5 separate regions of the Homo sapiens genome follow, and regions 1, 2, 4 and 5 are each linked to region 3. Evidence: promoter capture Hi-C in 16 types of primary human blood cells and fetal thymus (Javierre and others, 2016). All regions are on one chromosome and are shown on one strand. Each heading gives the region's core, a stretch centred on a gene start or on the middle of the fragment in contact. The rest is flanking DNA. Distances are from core to core; before and after follow the strand shown. Region 1 has its middle 4.5 kb from the start of SLC12A7. Region 2 has its middle 28 kb from the start of SLC12A7. Region 3 holds the start of MRPL36 (mitochondrial ribosomal protein L36). Region 4 holds the start of BRD9 (bromodomain containing 9). Region 5 overlaps BRD9 (bromodomain containing 9).

Region 1 (3,374 bases), core at 312-2,811, 680 kb after region 3:
GCAGAGCTGGCTGTGCAGGAGACCGGAGTTTTACTGTCACTCAAATCAGGGGAATCGCAATAGGGAAAGAGGGATTCACGCAGAGCTGGCTGTGTGGGAGACCGGAGTTTTATTATTACTGAAATCAGTCTCCCCACACATTTGGGATCAGTTCTTTTTTTCTTTTTTTGAGACAGAGTCTCACTCTATCCCCCAGGCTGGAGTGCAGTGGCGTGCTCTCAGCTCACTGCAAGCTCCGCCTCCCGGGTTCACGCCATTCTCCTGCCTCAGCCTCCCGAGTAGCTGGGACTTCAGGCACCTGCCACCATGACCGGCTAATGTTTTTGTGTGTATTTTTAGTAGAGACGGGGTTTCACCGTGTTAGCCAGGATGGTCTCGATCTCCTGACCTCGTGATCCACCCACCTCAGCCTTCTAAAGTGCTGGGACTACAGGCGTGAGCTACCGCGCCCGGCAGGGATCAGTTTTTAAGGACAGCTTAGTGGGTGAGGAAGCCAGTGAGCCAGGAGTGCTGATTGGTCAGGTCAGAGATGAACTCATAGGGAATTGAAGCTGTCCTTTTGTGCGGAGTCTGTTCCTGGTGGGGGTCACAAGATCAGATGAGCCAGTCTATTGGTCTGAGTGGTGCCAGCTGATCCATCTAGCGCAACAAGGATCCGCAAAACATCTCAAGCATGGATTTTAGGAGCAGTTTAGGGAGGGTCAGAATCTTGTAGCCTCCAGCTGCATGACTCCTAAACCACAATTTCTTTAATCTTGTGGCTAATTTGTTAATCCTACAAAGGCAGTCTAGCCCTCAGGCAAGAAGGAGGTTTATTTTAACTATAAACTAAGTTCCTCCCAAAGTTAGTTCAGCCTACGCCCAGGAAGGAACAAGGACAGCTTGGAGGTCAGAACCAAGATGGAGTCAGGTCGGAACCCTTCCACCAACGGTGATAATTTTGCAAACTTGGCTTCACTAGTTGCTTCGTTGCTCCATCTCGGGCTGGTAGGAACCCCTTCCCTGGCTGCCTCCCCAGCGAAGGCTGCACCCCCACCCCCGCAGGCCAGGCCCAGCTCACCCCAGCCTGCTCAGTGGCCCCTCGCAGTACGCTCCCCACCAGCCCCCCAGCCCATCCCCACGGCTCTGGGGTTTGAGCAGGACCCTCCGCGGCTCTGAGACAGAGCCAGCAAATCCCTGATCTCATGGTGTTGCTGGGGTCGGGGGCGGCATCCATGAGGGTTGGCCTCGTCTTCCAAACCCAGCTCTTTATGACGTCTGAGAGAGGATTGGCCACATCGTGTCCTGGGCTCTGCTTCCATTTCTGAAGGGCTGCGTGTCTGCCAGGTTGGGAGGTTTTGAGCCCATCTGGACCCTGGCATGGCCTTTCCCCCTGAGCCGACAGCAAACATTTGCCCAAGCTTCACGGGAAAGAAGTCACCTGTGGAGCAGGAACGAGAGCTGGCGGGGGGTGGGTGGGCTTCTGGGCAGCTTGGACTTCAGAGGAGATGCGAACCTTCCCTGTGTCTGCAACTCACGGGCGTCCGTGTGAGATTCTGAGTAACATTATGTGAGTTACACTTTGAGAGAAGGAAAGCCACACACGTGGTCTAAAAATCCTGGAGCCTCCTGAGTGAGGGGAAGAGTGTGTCGGACTCATCCACGGAATCTTCCAGAGGGAACTTGAGCGAAGACTCAGTGTCCGTGAATTACAGGACTGAGAGCTTTGTCGCTCAAGCTTGACCTTCTGTTGGCGTCACTTACAGTCTCAGACACAGATGGTCTGAGACGAGCTCTGTGGGAGGGGAGGCCCCTTCTATTCCCAGATTCAGCTCCATGGGATGTACCCCTGCCCAGCAGGCACAGGACCCGGGGGAGGCTCAGAACCCCACGTACCTGGCCACTGTGCAGACAGGCTCCCCAGCGCCAGGCCAGGCCCACCATCCACCAGGCCCAGAGGCCCCGCCCTGGGCAAGCCAGGGATCGGGGCGGGGGGCAGCTTGCGGTGCCTGCCTGGGAAGAGCCTGGCATTGTTTGCAGAACCCTTGGGACAGGGCTGCTTCTTCAGGGGAGATGCAGCCATGGGCCTGGGGCTGTGGCTGGGGTCTTCTGTCATCCCTGCCTACCACAGCTCCCTTCGAGCCCCCACAGGTGGTGGCGGATGTGGGGCTTTAGGGCCACCCTGGCCATGGGCAGAATTCTCGGCCCTGGTGGGACTCCTGGGCAGGGAGAGTGTGGGTCCCACAGGTGGCCGGAGACTCTGCTTCCTCCACTGATGTCCACATACCCCACCCTGCCAGGAGAGGCTCACCACGCTTAAAAAAAAAAAGGTTTGTTTTTTAAAAATCACTTTAGCCTTGGGTAACTGGGGCCTCCCTTCCCTCTCCTCCCTTCCCACCTCTTTCCTTTCCCTCCCCCTTCCCCCGATTCTCCTTCCTCCCCTCTCTCTTCTGCTCTGCCCTATTCGCTCTCTCCCCCACTCACCATGGGTGCTGGGCCAACAGGCAAGAACCTGGGTGGGTGCCCGGCCCTGCCAGGCAGAAGGCGGGTGGCTTTCTGGTGAGAAGGAGTGTGGGGCCTCCAGGGCCGGCCTCCTCCAGGTGTCCCCTTCCCTGGACACGGAGCTCTCCACGGACACTCTGCCTGCCAGCCCCACCTGCATCCTTCAGCCCTGGAGGTGCGCCCTGCCTGATACCCGACAGCAGGTTCCCAGCCCAGAAGGATGCAGATGGCGCACCAGGAGATGAGCCCCCCACCCTAACAGGAAAGCAGAAGTGGACTGGGGGGACCCGCGGACCTGGGGAGAAGCTCCGTGGGCAGAGGCACACAGATACCTGGAGGCAGCCTGCGTCTGGTGAGAGCCCTCCCAGGCCACAGCCCTGATTCCAAGCCGTGGGCACGAGCGGCCTCCTGGCTTGGAAGCTGGCATTGGGTGTCCGTCCTAATCCATTAGAAACTCCACCCCAGGGTGGCAGGCAGCAGGGACTGTTTCGAGAATCTACACACAGAATGTAACCACCATCGGCTACACTTTCGCACTAAATCCCAGGGTTCCCCTGGCTGTGCCCTGCACACGGCCAAGAGGCCATCGCAGATGACCAGGCTCACATCATAAGGATGCGAGATTGCATTTGAAGAGGCCCCCTGGGCAAAGCTGGACACCGATGCTTGGAAAGGGCACTAATGGTGATCGACTGAGACCCACCAATGTGTTTCATCAGCGATGTACAAATATACTTGGGAGATTGTCGGGAACCAATTCACCGTTGTGGAAACTGACAAATGAGGGAGAGGCACCCTTGCCCTGCCTTTCCTGTGGGCACCATTATCCAGATGGCCAGACGGACAAGATGAGCCTCTCCCTCCAGTGAATTCATGACGAAGCCACCACGCAC
Region 2 (3,451 bases), core at 300-2,799, 660 kb after region 3:
ATGAAAGTTCACTTCTCCCTCACTAAGCATTTTGTTCTGAATTTGTTCATCTGTTGATCTGTCCCGGCGAACCCTCTTGTCTCTGCCTGAGTGTCCAGTGGCCTCTCTGCACCAACGGAGTTATTCCTTGTCCACGCTGTCCTATGCAGCAGCCACCGGCCACATGTGGCTATCGGCACTTGAGCTGTAGCTGCTGTGGCTGAGGACCTGGATTCTTCATTTTTTAAAAAAAATTTTAACTTAAATATAAACTTCAGTGACCACACAAGCTTAGTGGCTGCTGTCCCAGTGAGGTCTGGGTGCTGAGGACACAGTGGGGAAGACAGTCCCCAGGGAGCCTCCATCCCAGGAGATACAGAAAACAAGCCAGGGGAGAGCACAGAGAGGGAGGCAGGGACAGCTGTGGTGCCCGTGGCGGCTCTGGTGCCCATGGCGGCTGTGGTGCCCGTGGCAGCAGGGACGGCTGGGACAGCCAAGTTACAGGCTCAGTGACATCTCTCCATTAGGACTGGGAGAGGACTGGGGGTCCTACTGCCTAGCACTTGAGAATGTGATGGTATTGGGAGGGAGCTGTTTGCAGAGGTCATCAAGTGACAGCTCACAGGGGTGCATCCTAATTCAATATAACGGGTGTCCTTATTAAAAGGGGGAATTTGGACACAGAAATAGACACTCACAGAGCAGGGACGATACAGAGACACAGGGAGAAGCTGGGGCCTGCAAGCCAAGAAGAGGCCGGAACCGGTGCCCGCCTACAGCTCAGGGGAGCAGCCCAGCCACACACTGACCTGGGACTTCAGGCCCGAGGCTTCGAGACGTGTCTGTGGTGTGCACAGCCTGGCTGCACTCATTTCCACAGCGGCCCGAGCGTATTGGTATAAACGTCCCGTGTCCACCCTCCCCCTCAGCCTGGCTGCTCTGAACTGGCCCAGGCCCAGCTTGCCCACCTTGGCTGCAGCCCCCAACGGCTCTGCCTCATGCTGAGCCTCCCAAGGGGTTCCCCTCAGAACATTCTCCCATGGCGTGGTCACCTAGAAGCTACTCCGAGCTGTCATGCCGGTGCAGTGACCACATCCCTCCCCAGCCAGTGCTTGTCAATGGCCCTCCTGGGTGAATCTCCCTTCCCTGCACCCCCTCCGCCAGCCACCTGAGCCCTCCCCGGGGCCCTGGGCTCCGCCCTTGCGCCTCTCGTTGCCTGGTGAGCAGAGCTTTCTTGTCCCACTGGAGTAGAGAGCGTGGAGCCAGCGGTGCGAGTTCCTGAGCACGGGGAACTCCGGGATTGCTGGGCATGCTGGCACCGTCCTGAACCCCATCTCCCTGTTTACAGAATGACGCCTCCCTCCAGGGACAGCTGTGGGGAGGGGAAGCCAGCAGGGAGCACCCCCCCTCACCAGCAGGGGGCACCCACTCACCAGCAGGGAGCACCGCCTCGCTGGAGCTGCACCTGTTTCCTCCTCCCCTGCTTACCAGTGTCTTCCAGACCCGGTGGGGGGGAACAGAACCGAGGGAGATGGAGACGCAGGTGTGGCTGTGTGTGCAGATTGGCGGTCAGGATTCACCCGAGGGGCCATGGGGATCACATGCCTCATCGCCTGGGATGTGCTGGCTGGGGCAGGGCCACCTTTCTCAGGAGGGGGATCTGCCTGGGTTCCCATGGGGCCCTGCTCCCTGCATGCAGGTGGGCCGGGGCTGCAGCGGCTGGTACGAGACAGCCAGCCAGCGATGGGAAACAGCGTTTCTGGGGGGCCTTCTGAGGGCAGGACGGCGCCTCTGGGGTGCTGGTTGAGGCCAAGGCGGTGGTGCCTGGTCACCGACCTCGGAGCGTTTGATGCCCTGAGACCTGGGATGCTCTGGGAGACAGAGGTGCAGGCCGGGCGTGTCCTGACACCTTCCAGCATGTCCCGGCCTGGTCCGCATCTGTGACCACAGAGGTCTTCTTGGCACTTCTTGGGATCAGAGCCCTGAGGCCCATGCATCCGGAAACGCCGTTTGGAGATGTGGAAAGTCCCTTTTGACTCACAAAATCTGCCTTTGTCTCAGCAAGTGTCCCAGAACCGTGGGGACGTAGTGGCCCTAGACTGGGAAGTGGGGCTCGGGAACCAGATTCAGAATTACTCACCTTCCCCAAAGACACGGGGCCTGCCGGGAGGAGGGACGTGGGTCACAAAAGTGGGCCGTGGCCACCCCAGGGTCAAGCAAGCTCGCCGTGTGCACTCGGGGAAGGCAGGCTGTGCGGACGCCTACAGAGGAACATGGGGGCCACTCTGCCTCCTGTTTCCCGGCACCCACACCCGCTAGGGCCACTGCCCAAACAGTTCTCGAGGCAACCTCGGTTCCAGGTTCCGGCATGTGGCACCATTGCTGCTGTGTGGACACCACCCCTCAGAGAAGGCCAAGCCGGCAAGGCCCAGGCAGTGTCAACCGCCCCAGCTCCCAGAACCGCATCTGTCAGGCTGAGCCGCCTCTTGGTTTGGGGCCCAGGGCCCTCGTGAGGATGTAGCTGAGCACCAGCTGCATTTGCCTGGAGTGGTTCCTGCCTTCCAGGGGCTGCTCCCCACCAGGGCTGGGCTTGGGTGCAGGCACTGGGGCCGCACGTCCTGGGGAGATGCTGTTACCAGCGAGGGTCCCCCGCCAGGATCCCAGCCGGCTGCCGTGGAGGCCAAGGGCTCACACTTTCCCCCTTCCTCTTGCCTACGGACCATGAGGACTCAGCAGCCACCTGGTGGGCTACGCCCATGGGGATGAGGAGGGAGCCCAGCTGTGGGGACCATCGGAGGCTCCCAAAGTGCACCTGCTGCCGCCCAGAGCCCCCCCCCCACCCCAAGCTTGGGTGAGGGGCGACCCCTGCAGCTGTTTCAAAGTCAAGACTTCAGCTTGCTCTCCTTTCAGAGGCCTGGGTGGTGGGTGCAGGTCCAAGGCTTCTGGCCAGTGCCCTGGAGTCGAGTATCCCCGGCTCACCTCAGGGCACATGTTAGGACCCAGCATGTGTTAAGGACCTGGTAGAAAGCTGTGTGTTGCAGTTGAACAGACACCCTGGGGCTCCCACTGTGCACACAGGGCTGTGTCGGGCAGTGGGGCTTAGCTTCCTGGGCCTCTCTCTGGAGCCCAAGTCCTTCTAAGTTTGGACCTTGATCCTGTTTTGGTTTCAAGGTTTGTAGTAAACTAAACGGTGGCCTCCAAAGAGCTACATCTATGTCCTGATTCCTGGAACCCGAGAATATGACCTTATTTGGAAAAGAATCTTTGCATGTGGGGTAAAGATCTCCAGCTGAAGTCGCCCCAGTTTATGTGAGCGGGCTCTAAGCCCACTGGCAAATCAGAAACAGACGAGGAGAGAGGCACACAGAGGAGGAGGCCCTATGAGGTTGAGAGGTGAAGCCCGCTGGGCCTCTGGGTAGGGTGGGGACTTGTAGAACTTTTCTGTCTAGCTAAAGGATTGTAAACACACCAA
Region 3 (3,608 bases), core at 78-2,577:
TTAAGCGGCCCCGTTGCGCCGGCAGGTGCAGCCTCATGCAGTTGCAGCCGCAGGCTAGAGCTAGGGCCCTGATGAGGCAGGCAATGGTGTGCGAAACCTTCAGCGATTAGGAGTACCCAGTGGTTCTTATTTAGCGGACAGGCAGGGGAGGATGTAAACTGAAAATACATTGTTTATATTCTTATGGTAACCGATAATCATGAGACATTTAAATATCAAAATTATTGGGTGAAGGAGTCAACTGCTTAGCAGACGAGACTGGAAGTGCATTCTCCTCGTTCAAGGCAAGCGTTCCTGTGTGTGGTTACGGGGAGCCGCAGAGGAAACGTATATTGGGGATTTCTGCAACAAAGCCTAGTACACCGACTGATTTTACAGCATGCAAATACAGCCTCTAAAAAGGCCCGTTTTGCTTAGAGTTGACTTGGGTATAAATCCCAGCTTAAGCTCCAGCATCCAGCTTTTCTTTTGCTGTGGTCAGAGCCTGAGGACCACGTGACTCCAAGAACAAAACACTAGAGATGGATGAGTGGCGGGGAAGATGATAAAGAGGAGGAAAGGCATGAGAAACAAGAATGCACATGAAAACCTCCGGTCCCAAAGATGTCCCAGCAAACGTGGTGGTCAGAGGCAGATTTGTCCTGGAGCTGATAAACTCCAGCGGCCCGCCCGGTGTTCGCCGGGTCAGGTGGAAAAAGTGGGCGCTGCGATGAAGCGTTGGGGCCTGCAGGGAGCGCGGAGTGGACGCAGCCACGTCTGCAACTCACCCGGACACACACAAAAAGGAAGGCGAATGGAGTTACGGGTAGATACCTGAAAAGGCAGGGATAAGCGAGCTAAGGGTAGAATCTAGGTGGCAAGTATATGGGTGTTCACCGTACAGTTCTTTCCCTTTTTCTCTATGTCCGAAGTTTTTCATAATGTTGGGGAAAACAGCCGTAACCAGTTGAAACTACTGCCCGTCTCCACTCGTTTCCCGGAGCCTGTTTACATTTCTCCTGTCCACTTAAAAACATGTCCTCTTTCTCAGTTTGTTTTGACATTGGTATTTGCCAGTTTTTTCTAAGGCCTAAGTGGTTGTAATTTCTTTTTCGTTGCGGATATCCATTTTCGTTCCTGGTTTTTGCATTTTTTTTCCCGAGAGCGCTCCAAACAGCACGACGATCCCGGTGGCCCGCAGAGTGCGCGCAGTCGGGGAGTGATACGTCGCACTCCAGCGCCTGCGCACTCGCTGCTGCGTCTCTGCGCCCCGCACTGGACGTGGGCACGCCACGTGACCCCCCCCCCCGCCGCCATCTTCCTTCCTGGCAGCAGCGTCCGCGTGCCAGTGCGCAGACGCAGGGGTCGGCGCCGGGTGAGAGCGTGCGGCCGGGTAAGGGAGCCGTCTTCTCAGGTCAGGGGTCCCGGGTGTCTTGAGAGTGGGGGCTGCGAGAGGGTGGGGCCGGCCACCTTGGGACCCTCGGGCGTGTCTCCCCGAGTGGGCTGCGGTCAGAGGAGCGTGGGCCGGGGCCTGGCGGTCTCAGAGGGCCAGGGTTGGGGGGTGCGGGTCCGACCGTGGGCGCCCGACCTGGCGACAGGAGGGGGTGTCCAGCGACCCCGGGGCGGGAGAACTGGCGGCTCCCGAACGCGACCTCACAGCCCGCGCGCAGGGCCGGCTCCGGTGCCGCAGTGTCCTCCGGGCCCTGCAGGCCCAGCTCTTCCCAGCCGGGGCCGCTGAACCCTAAGGGCCGGGGCGCGTGGGGAAGCAGGGGCGGGCGACCGGGGTGCCAGAGTTCCGTGCTCTTCCGGAGCGGGGGCCTGTCCCGAAACTGGCCCGAGGGAGGGCCCCTGGGTCTGGGAAGAGTTGGAGGGAGGAGCTCATCAGTTGAACCGTCCTTGACCTGGTGTCTGTTTGGAAAGGGATGCGGCCTAAGTTTAAGCTCCCTCCCAGCCAAGTGAGCGGCTCCTCAACATCGCAGGGCTTTGCACACTCACCTACACTTGCAGCAGGCGGGAAAGGGAAGGAAGCCACCGTCCACTGCCCCTTATTCTCCTGGCACACTTGGCTGATTAAGGCAGTGTTCAAGCTCAGGTCGAGGCTGCAGCTGGTATGGGAACACCCTCAGTCCCCGAGGTCCCTGCCTTCCCAAGCCTCAGTGAAACAGAGAAAAGGAAGCCTTAAAGAGCAGGTGGAAGTGCAGGAGAAGCTATAACTCCTTTTTTTCTCTCTCCCATAGATTCACCACAACATGGCAAATCTTTTTATAAGGAAAATGGTGAACCCTCTGCTCTATCTCAGTCGTCACACGGTGAAGCCTCGAGCCCTCTCCACATTTCTATTTGGATCCATTCGAGGTGCAGCCCCCGTGGCTGTGGAACCCGGGGCAGCAGTGCGCTCACTTCTCTCACCCGGCCTCCTGCCCCATCTGCTGCCTGCGCTGGGGTTCAAAAACAAGACTGTCCTTAAGAAGCGCTGCAAGGACTGTTACCTGGTGAAGAGGCGGGGTCGGTGGTACGTCTACTGTAAAACCCATCCGAGGCACAAGCAGAGACAGATGTAGACCCTTTCCCTCCAGAGTCACGCACATACTCGTCATCGCATCACTTGGGAGAATGGTTGTATCTTATGGAAGGAATTATCACATCAAGGAGTCAGGGGAAAGTGACTGGAAGCAAACGCCCTAAAAGTTACCCATCACGTTTCAGTGTAAATGAGTAACTATAGAAGACATTGCGTTATCTTATTTCCAAAACGTTCCAACTAAAAAACATTTTCCTATTAAAATAGACCTTCCGAATAGCTTAGTTCATTCATTCTCTCTGAACTCAGGCTGCAGGTAGGGATTGGATGGTGCTGGGTGAGGCTGGGCAGGACTTCTCTATGTCTCCGTGAGGCTGCTTAGAGCCTCTTGGAAGAAGTGGTGTTTTGGTCACCCGTCGCTGTACAAGCCAAGGCTTGGTGGCTTAAATCAGCCATTTTACATTGTTCACGATTTTGTGAGGCATTTGGGATGGGCTCAGCTGAGCAGTTTGTCTGATCTGTGTGGCATTAACTGCAGGACCCACTTCCAAGATGGCACCGGCTCTCCTGTCTGGGGTCTCAGTGCTCCTCAGGCTGTACGTAGCACCTCCTCAGGCAGGGCCCACAGCGTGGCTTGCACTGCCCCACAGTGAGCTTCCCGAGAGTGTCCCGAGAGACCCAAGCAGATGCTACGAGGCTTCCTATGACCCAGCCTCAGAAATTCCAGCGTGTCATTTCTACCGCACTCTTTCAGTCCCTAGGGTGAGCCCAGATTCAGGGGGAGGCAAGGAGCTCCCCTTGCTAGAGGATGACCACACCTACAACTGGTAAGGACTTGGAGGGATGGAGTGGGCTGGTCCTTCCCTGGTCATCGGGATTCATAGTTGAGTGAGCCCCATGCCTTGGGGGAGCACTGTCATCAACATGAATTTGGGGGTGGGGAGCACAGTCCAACCCAGAGCAGATGCTGAGATGCGACAGCCTTCTCACGGCTCCTTTCCTCCTGGCCAGGGACACCTCCCCTTCTCCCAGAAAGGAGTTTTGTGAGACAGGAGACCACGCAAGAAGCCTAGCGCGGGGGGAGCGCCCTCCTGCCCAGATCAGCAGC
Region 4 (3,483 bases), core at 676-3,175, 910 kb after region 3:
AAGTGTTTTGAAAAACTCAGACAATACATAAGAAAGCCCAGTAGTTAACAGGGTAAGTTGGAGTTGGCCTGCCTGGGACCAAATCTAGAGCCACCCCTTGCCTGTGGGTCCTCTACCAGCTGTGCCCTGAAGAAGCTGTGCCTCAGCTCCCAGTTAGAAAAAGGGGACAACAGTAAGAGTTCTCGCTATGCTGGGCTACTGTGAAGTCATTAATACACTCAAAGTGTTTAGGACGATACCTGGCACATAGTAAGCACGCAATAATGTTGGCTTTCACTATTACTAATGAAGTTCCACAGCTGTGGGGTCAGGCCTGGGGTCTGCATTGTAACAAGTCTCCAATAGCCGTGATTCGTGCTGAGAAAATCTAATGCTTTCAGCTTGGTATCCAGGGCTTCCCTTGGTCCCCCTTGCTGCAGTCCTCCTAACACCTCCCCTTTCTACAACAGTGACCTGGTCCCGGATCACACCTCTGTGCCCTGCTATGCACTGTCCCAGCTTACTGGCCTGATCAACTGCAGTCACCCTCTAAGTCCTATTCAATGTCTGCCTCCCTCTGAGCCCTCCTGGACAGGCTCCTCAGAGCCAGGCAGGTGACATGTGGCCCCTTTGCAATCGTCCCAGCACCCTACAAGCAGCGACCACCATGCATAGTGCGGTTGTGTGCAGGTGTCTATGAACTCTGGTGCAGTTGTACGTAGGTGTCTGTCCTCTAGGTGCAGCTGTGCTCTGGTGTGATTATGCCTAGCGTCTCTGGGCCCAGGTGTGGTTGTACATGGGGTGTCTCTAGGCTGCGGTGGCACTGTGTACAGGTGTCTCTGAGCGCTAAGGTGTTTACACAGGTGTCGCCAGGCTGTGATGGGGCTTTGTGCAGGTGTCTCTGGGCCCTGGTGCAATTATGCTGACGTGTCTGAACTCCAGCACCTAGAAAATACCCAGTCAACAGCTATTCTGTTAAAGGAAAGGTCTCTTCCTCTGCATCCCCTCTGAGGCTGGTGGTCTCACCTGACCTCAATCCACCCTCCGTGGACATAAGGAGGGTCTGTGAAGGTCTGGCCCCGCCGCTGAGTTCCCCCCACTCCAGGGAGCAGCACAGCCCACAGGCCCCACCATACCATGAACTGACTTGGTCACAAATGAGTGGGATGTGCTTTGAACCCTAAAAATTTAACATCGAGTCCGTGAGGAACGGGAACAATTAAAGGGTCTGAGAAGCAGTGGCTCAAAGAATAACCACCCAGCTTTCGGCTGAGACTAGAGCTCTCTGTAATGCGCAGCCATCCTATTCTCCAACGTGGGACTCAGGGCCACATCAATGCACTGGAGGACAGCCGGGGCAGGGGCAGGGTCAGGGCCAGGTCCGTGAGCTGAGGTCGGGTCGGGGCTCAATCTGTGAGCTGGGGTCCTGCGCGCAGGGCTCGGGTCGGCCGGGTCAGTGCCCTGCGGTGGGGTCGCGTCATTGCGCTAGGATCCGGTCGGGGCCCGGCGGCCTGTGCGCCCGGGTCCAGTCGGGCCGGATCAGTACCCTGGGGTTCGGTCGCATCAGAATCAGTGCGCTGGGGTCGGGGCTCGGTGCACGCGCTGGGGTCGGGGCGGGTGGGTGCCCAGAGGATGTGTCGGACAGGTCCGGCTCACCTGCTGCCGCGCTGATGCACCTCCACGTGGACCGTTGGCGACTCGGCCACACAGGGAAGCGCCTGCTTCAGGTCGCCCACGGCCTCGTCCATGGCGCCCCCGAGAGCAGTGGGGACCCAACCAGGGCGCGGCCGCCGCCACCTCACGCCCAGCGTCGCCGCCACAGCCGCTGCCTCAGCCCGCGGGCCCCGCCCTAGCTTCGAATCTGCCGCGCGAGGCGCACCACCTCCTGACCCGGAAGCGCTCGGGCCCGGCAGGGCCACTTCCTGCCGCGGCCCCGCCTCGCCCCGTTTCCGGCGCGGCCCAGCGAGCTCGGCAACCTCGGCGCAGCGAGCGCGGGCGGCCAGCCAGGGCCAGGGGGCGGTGGCGGCCAAGGTCCGACCGGGTGCCAGCTGTTCCCAGCCCCCGCCTCGGGCCCGCCGCCGGCGCCGCCATGGGCAAGAAGCACAAGAAGCACAAGGCCGAGTGGCGCTCGTCCTACGAGGGTGAGGCGGCGGCGCTTTGTGACGCGCGGCGGGCGGGGTCCCGGGCACGGGGGAGGAGTTCCGGGCACGCGGACGGGGGTCCTGGGCACCGGGCGAGGTCCTGGCCACGAGGGAGGGGTTCTGGGCACGCGGGAGGGGGTCCTGGGATTTCGGGCAGGGAACCGGGCACACGTGAGGGGTCCTGGGTAGGCGCTTACGTTCCTGGTAGAGGGTTCTGGGTTCGAGGCTGCAAGCCCACTCACCCCGGTCCTGGAGACTAGGGAAGCATCTGTGCTGGCTTTTGTGTGGAGCTCAGGGAGAAGCTGGGCTGCCCTTTCTCCCGCCTTTCCCTCCCTCTCCCTTGCTCCCGCAGCAGCTCCATGGGTGTCAGCGGGCAGCACGGGCGCCTGCAGGAAGTCAGGCGAGGGTGAACCGAAGTGCTGGGGGTTTCTAGGAGGGAGATCGGGCTCCGGGGTTCCAGGTCCCTCTTAATCCATCTTCTTGAACGAGTAATGTGAACAACATCCCACAGGGCCTCTGGTGAGGACACCGTGGCTCGAAAGGGACCTGAAGCTCCCTGCGGAGGGGAAGGGAGAACAAGGAGGCAGTGACATGCCGCCACTGTGGTCTTCCCTTCCGTCTTTCCCTGCTGGTTGGCAGCCCCGCTGTACTCCTTAGGGAGGCCTTTCCCTCTTAGCACCTTCACGTCTCACCTGGCTGCGTGGCGTTTGCACCTGAGCACGCGGGTAGAACTCGGTCTGTGTCTGTGCAGATTATGCCGACAAGCCCCTGGAGAAGCCTCTAAAGCTAGTCCTGAAGGTCGGAGGAAGTGAAGTGACTGAACTCTCAGGATCCGGCCACGACTCCAGTTACTATGATGACAGGTCAGACCATGAGCGAGAGAGGCACAAAGAAAAGAAAAAGAAGAAGAAGAAGAAGTCCGAGAAGGAGAAGCATCTGGACGATGAGGAAAGAAGGAAGCGAAAGGTAAAGGAGCAGCGGCGGTGGCCCGGACGCTGCCCACGAGGAGCCCGTGGGGAGCCTGGTCCCAGGACCCAGGCAGAGTGCGCCTGCGTGGCTGGAGGAGGGGAGGGGGTGTTCCGTTGGTAGCAAAACGCGAACCGCTGAGGCCCGCAGACTCAGTTCCAGGATCCTGGGTGTGCTGTTCCTCAGCAGACCCTGCCAGGGTCTCTGTGAGGAGGGAGCCTGGCATGAGGAGGATCTCGGAGGGGGTTTCCCTTAGTTCTGTCCCTCCCCTGAGAACTGCGAGGGGATTGGGCAGACCTGTCCGGATCCCGCCTACTCCTGCCTTTCTCACTCCCTTGACTCTGCCGCCCAGGAAGAGAAGAAGCGGAAGCGAGAGAGGGAGCACTGTGACACGGAG
Region 5 (3,339 bases), core at 394-2,893, 930 kb after region 3:
GTAAACCCAGACACCCATGCCGAGGTTTTGTCATAGAAAGGACGTGTGTATTTGCAGGGCGCCAAGCAAGGTGGGCCAGGAGGCTCATGTATAAATCCTGGCCTCCCCCACTGGCTACAGGCAAGGCTTGTAAAGCGGGGGTAGATCTCAGGAAAGCAGAACTGAAAGGCAGAGTCGTGCATAAGGACACAGAGGTTACATGTCGGCTTGGCCTAGAAGGGCGGTATCTGCAAGCAGGGCCTTATAGGTTATAGGTGGATTCAAAGGTTTTCTGATTTGCAGCTGGTTAAGGAGGAGAAGCTTTGTTTAAAAATTTGGGGTGAAGAGAAAAGAATGTTAGCTTAGGCTTGTGGGTGTGGCTTCCTCCAGGCCCGTCAGGAAGAAATTCAGAACAAAGAACGGGGTCAGAGCTCAGTCTTCAGTTTCTCCTTATCTGAGCCCTTCATGCCAGTAGATTAGTTTGTTGGGGAGGTCCTAGGTGGAGGGTCCAGGTTTCTGAAAGACAACTCAGGGATATACATTAAGATGTTATCTTTACTTTCTTTCTTTTTTTTTCTTTTTGAGACATAGAGTCTCACTCTGTCACCCAGGCTGGAGTGCAGTGGCGTGATTGTGGCTCACTGCAACCTCTGCCTCCCTGATTCTAGCGATTCTCCTGCCTCAGCCTCCCGAGTAGCTGGGATTACAGGCATGCGCCACCACACCTGGCTAATTTTTGTATTTTTAGTAGAGGCGGAGTTTCGCCATGTTGGCCAGGCTGGTCTTTAACTCCTGACCTCAAATGATGCATCCATCTCAGCCTCCCAGAGTGGTAGGATGTTGTCTTTTCTTTCTACAGGGAACAGTGCTGGGAGGTTGTCTTTACTTTCTACAGGGAACAAACATCTGTCTCCACCTTCCTTGACTGTTGTTTTAGGATACTGTTACCTTCTTGCTTATCAAGTCGCTGATTTACTTCTCAGAGTTATCTAAGTAACTGGAATTTCCCTTGAAGGAACTCAAGATTTTCCTTGATTTCCATGCTTGGAGGGCTCGCAGGCCCCTGAAGAGAGGGTTGCAGCCAGGCGGGAGTCCCCAAGCAGATTTCTGCAGCTCTGAGGAGCAGCCCCCTCTGCAGAGCCTGCCCCACCAGCTCGTGGTTCTGACTCTGAGCTCTGGTCACCCTCCCGTGTCGTGGCCTGCAGGCTCCTTCCAGGCAGGAAGCTGGCCCCCCCAACACAGCGTTAGAATCAGGCATTGCTGTGGGGTAGGGAAAGTGACCCCCTCACAGCCCGGAAATGGGAAGGCTCTGTGGTTTCCTCTCTGGGTTCCAGTTAGATTCCTTTCGGGAAAGTGAACTTGGATATGGAGTTGAGTGACCCCGAGTGCACCCCCGCAGTAAATGATGCTCAGGACTAAAGTGACTGAAGGCTTTTGGGGAAACAGATGCGAACAAAACAGCAGTATTCATTTTCTAATTAAAAGCTTGTGAAAATCGATGTCATTGAATCTGAGAAACATTATTTCGAACAAAGATCACACATGATAGAGTGCATATACTACAGCATCGCTCCACCGGAGCACAGGACGGGTGTGCCACGGAGGCCGACAGTTGTGGAAGGAGACAATGCACGGCCCGGCCCACCTGCTGCAGGCACCGCCAGGAGGTGTCTGCCTCCTTCGCTCCTGCGCCCACGGCAGGCCCACCTGCCACAGGCACTGCCAGGAGGTGTCTGCCTCCTTTGCTCCTGCACACACCTGCCCCTGCAGGACTCGAGCTGGTCTCAGGCAACTGGTCATATTCCAGGTGGAACCCACGAGACCCTTCTTATCCTAAGCTTCCCATAGGATCTAGGCACATCTTTTTTCTTTTGTTTTAAGCCACCCAAGGCTGCCGAAACAGCATCGGCGTCCTCTCTCTGTCCGCTCCATCTCGCCCTGTGGAGCGCTGTCCCCGGCACACAATCCTGGCGCTGAGGAGGGGGCTGGGCGTGGTTGGGTCAGTGACTGGTGATGAAGAAGGTTTGGAGGACCCCCAGCCTTAATCCATTAAGATGGTGTGACTGGGGAGCAGAATTCGCAGAAGCGCACAAGCCATTTTTACGTGTGTGTAATGTCAGCGAATTGTCCGTTTCTATGAAATCACTCTGGAAAAACTAGTTTCTGTCCTCATTTACTTTTCAGAGAAGAAATGTTCCCATGAAGCCTCCAGATGAAGCCAAGGTAAGTTTTTGAACATGGAAGGGCAAGCCAAATATTATTCTCACAGGGAAAGTTGTATCCAGCCTTTGAGGTGGGGAGGTCTGTGTGTATGACGGCGTTTAGAAATGGAGTCCGTTTCTGATCAGTAAGATCAATAGTGTTTCTCCTCCTCTTTTCATGACTTGAGGTGAGTGGTGTGAAGCCGCAGTACATTCTTCCAAATCCAGAAATGGGTAGTTTCAGAGCAGTTGGCCCCGCTGGGTGCTGTCCTTGTGGGACACCCTTGCAAGGGTTGGGCAGGATGGGCCTTCTCAGGACCTGCTTGGTGAGTAGCAGGTGTTGTCCCAAGCACAGTGGGCTCTGGGGCCAGTGCTGGCAGGGCAGTGCTGTGAGCCCAGACTGCTGCACCTGCCGATTGGCAGGTGTGTGTCTCTGACAGTCAGCAGGCATGGGCTTGGGCTTTGGTCCAGGGTCCCTGGGAACCTGGAGAGACCCCTTAACATCTGTTTGAGGGCAGAGGCCGAGCTGCAGGGAGCTGATGAGAGAGTATGTGTTAGGGTGGCTGTAGTCTAGCCCTGAGGACACGCCTTGCTGGGAAAGGAAAGGGAACGTTGTGTGCTCTGTGAAGTGCCTGAGAAATAGTCCTGGACCCTAAAATTCTGTGTGTCTTCCTGTTGCATAATGTCCCTCCCCAATTTCTTTAGCCCCAAAAAGTTAACAAAGGATTGTTAGTTTGCGTTGTTGGTCTCAGTAGGTTTTTCTTTGACATGGATTTGCATATCCATTCATGAGCTCCAACCTGACAGTCCCTTGAACAGCAGCCTCAGTGAACAGGGCTTGGTCTTGTCACTTACTGAGGGGTGGGTTCACGTTTAGCAAATAATTAGAGTGATTTCAATAGCGAGTGTGAAGTAACATTTCGTTTTTCGTTTGATGTTTGAATTGCTCTTGATGTGTGTCTGTCTCCACAGGTTGGGGACACCCTAGGAGACAGCAGCAGCTCTGTTCTGGAGTTCATGTCGATGAAGTCCTATCCCGACGTTTCTGTGGATATCTCCATGCTCAGCTCTCTGGGTGAGTTGTAACAGGCACTTTCCCACAGCACCTGGTGAAGGTGTGATAGAGGAAGAAAACACACGGCCTCCACCTCCTCTCCCT

The links. Contacts are between HindIII fragments. The CHiCAGO score rates a contact against its expected background, and 5 or more counts as called.
Region 1: a contact is called between a fragment that was not itself captured here and the fragment with the promoter of MRPL36 in region 3, in 1 of 17 cell types (monocytes). The highest score is 5.4, in monocytes.
Region 2: a contact is called between a fragment that was not itself captured here and the fragment with the promoter of MRPL36 in region 3, in 1 of 17 cell types (monocytes). The highest score is 12.4, in monocytes.
Region 4: a contact is called between the fragment with the promoter of BRD9 here and the fragment with the promoter of MRPL36 in region 3, in 2 of 17 cell types (monocytes and neutrophils). The highest score is 9.2, in monocytes.
Region 5: a contact is called between a fragment that was not itself captured here and the fragment with the promoter of MRPL36 in region 3, in 1 of 17 cell types (monocytes). The highest score is 6.7, in monocytes.

The regions. Positions count from the first base shown.
Region 1 is chr5:1,114,871-1,118,244 of GRCh38, reverse strand. It overlaps a transcript of SLC12A7 not described here. Among named protein-coding and RNA genes, the nearest start is that of SLC12A7, 4.5 kb to the right of the region's middle. RefSeq lists an enhancer at 296-829. The HindIII fragment of the contact is 317 bases long and covers 1,403-1,719 here.
Region 2 is chr5:1,138,434-1,141,884 of GRCh38, reverse strand. It overlaps a transcript of SLC12A7 not described here. Among named protein-coding and RNA genes, the nearest start is that of SLC12A7, 28 kb to the right of the region's middle. RefSeq lists an enhancer at 548-1,391. The HindIII fragment of the contact is 2,556 bases long and covers 272-2,827 here.
Region 3 is chr5:1,797,556-1,801,163 of GRCh38, reverse strand. It overlaps MRPL36 (mitochondrial ribosomal protein L36), which reads left to right and starts at 1,327. Exons shown (of 2, transcript NM_032479.4): 1 at 1,327-1,372; 2 at 2,217-2,779. The coding sequence starts at 2,229. The coding sequence ends at 2,540. RefSeq lists enhancers at 128-257, 318-367 and a silencer at 1,448-1,857. The HindIII fragment of the contact is 7,489 bases long and covers 1-3,608 here.
Region 4 is chr5:891,243-894,725 of GRCh38, reverse strand. It overlaps BRD9 (bromodomain containing 9), which reads left to right and starts at 1,925. Exons shown (of 16, transcript NM_023924.5): 1 at 1,925-2,120; 2 at 2,872-3,086; 3 at 3,439-3,483. The coding sequence starts at 2,069. It overlaps TRIP13 (thyroid hormone receptor interactor 13), which reads right to left and starts at 1,842. Exons shown (of 13, transcript NM_004237.4): 1 at 1,636-1,842. The coding sequence starts at 1,727. RefSeq lists silencers at 1,556-2,175, 2,366-2,584 and an enhancer at 1,924-2,556. The HindIII fragment of the contact is 13,625 bases long and covers 1-3,483 here.
Region 5 is chr5:870,389-873,727 of GRCh38, reverse strand. It overlaps BRD9 (bromodomain containing 9), which reads left to right. Exons shown (of 16, transcript NM_023924.5): 13 at 2,164-2,202; 14 at 3,153-3,255. Among named protein-coding and RNA genes, the nearest start is that of BRD9, 21 kb to the left of the region's middle. The HindIII fragment of the contact is 353 bases long and covers 1,467-1,819 here.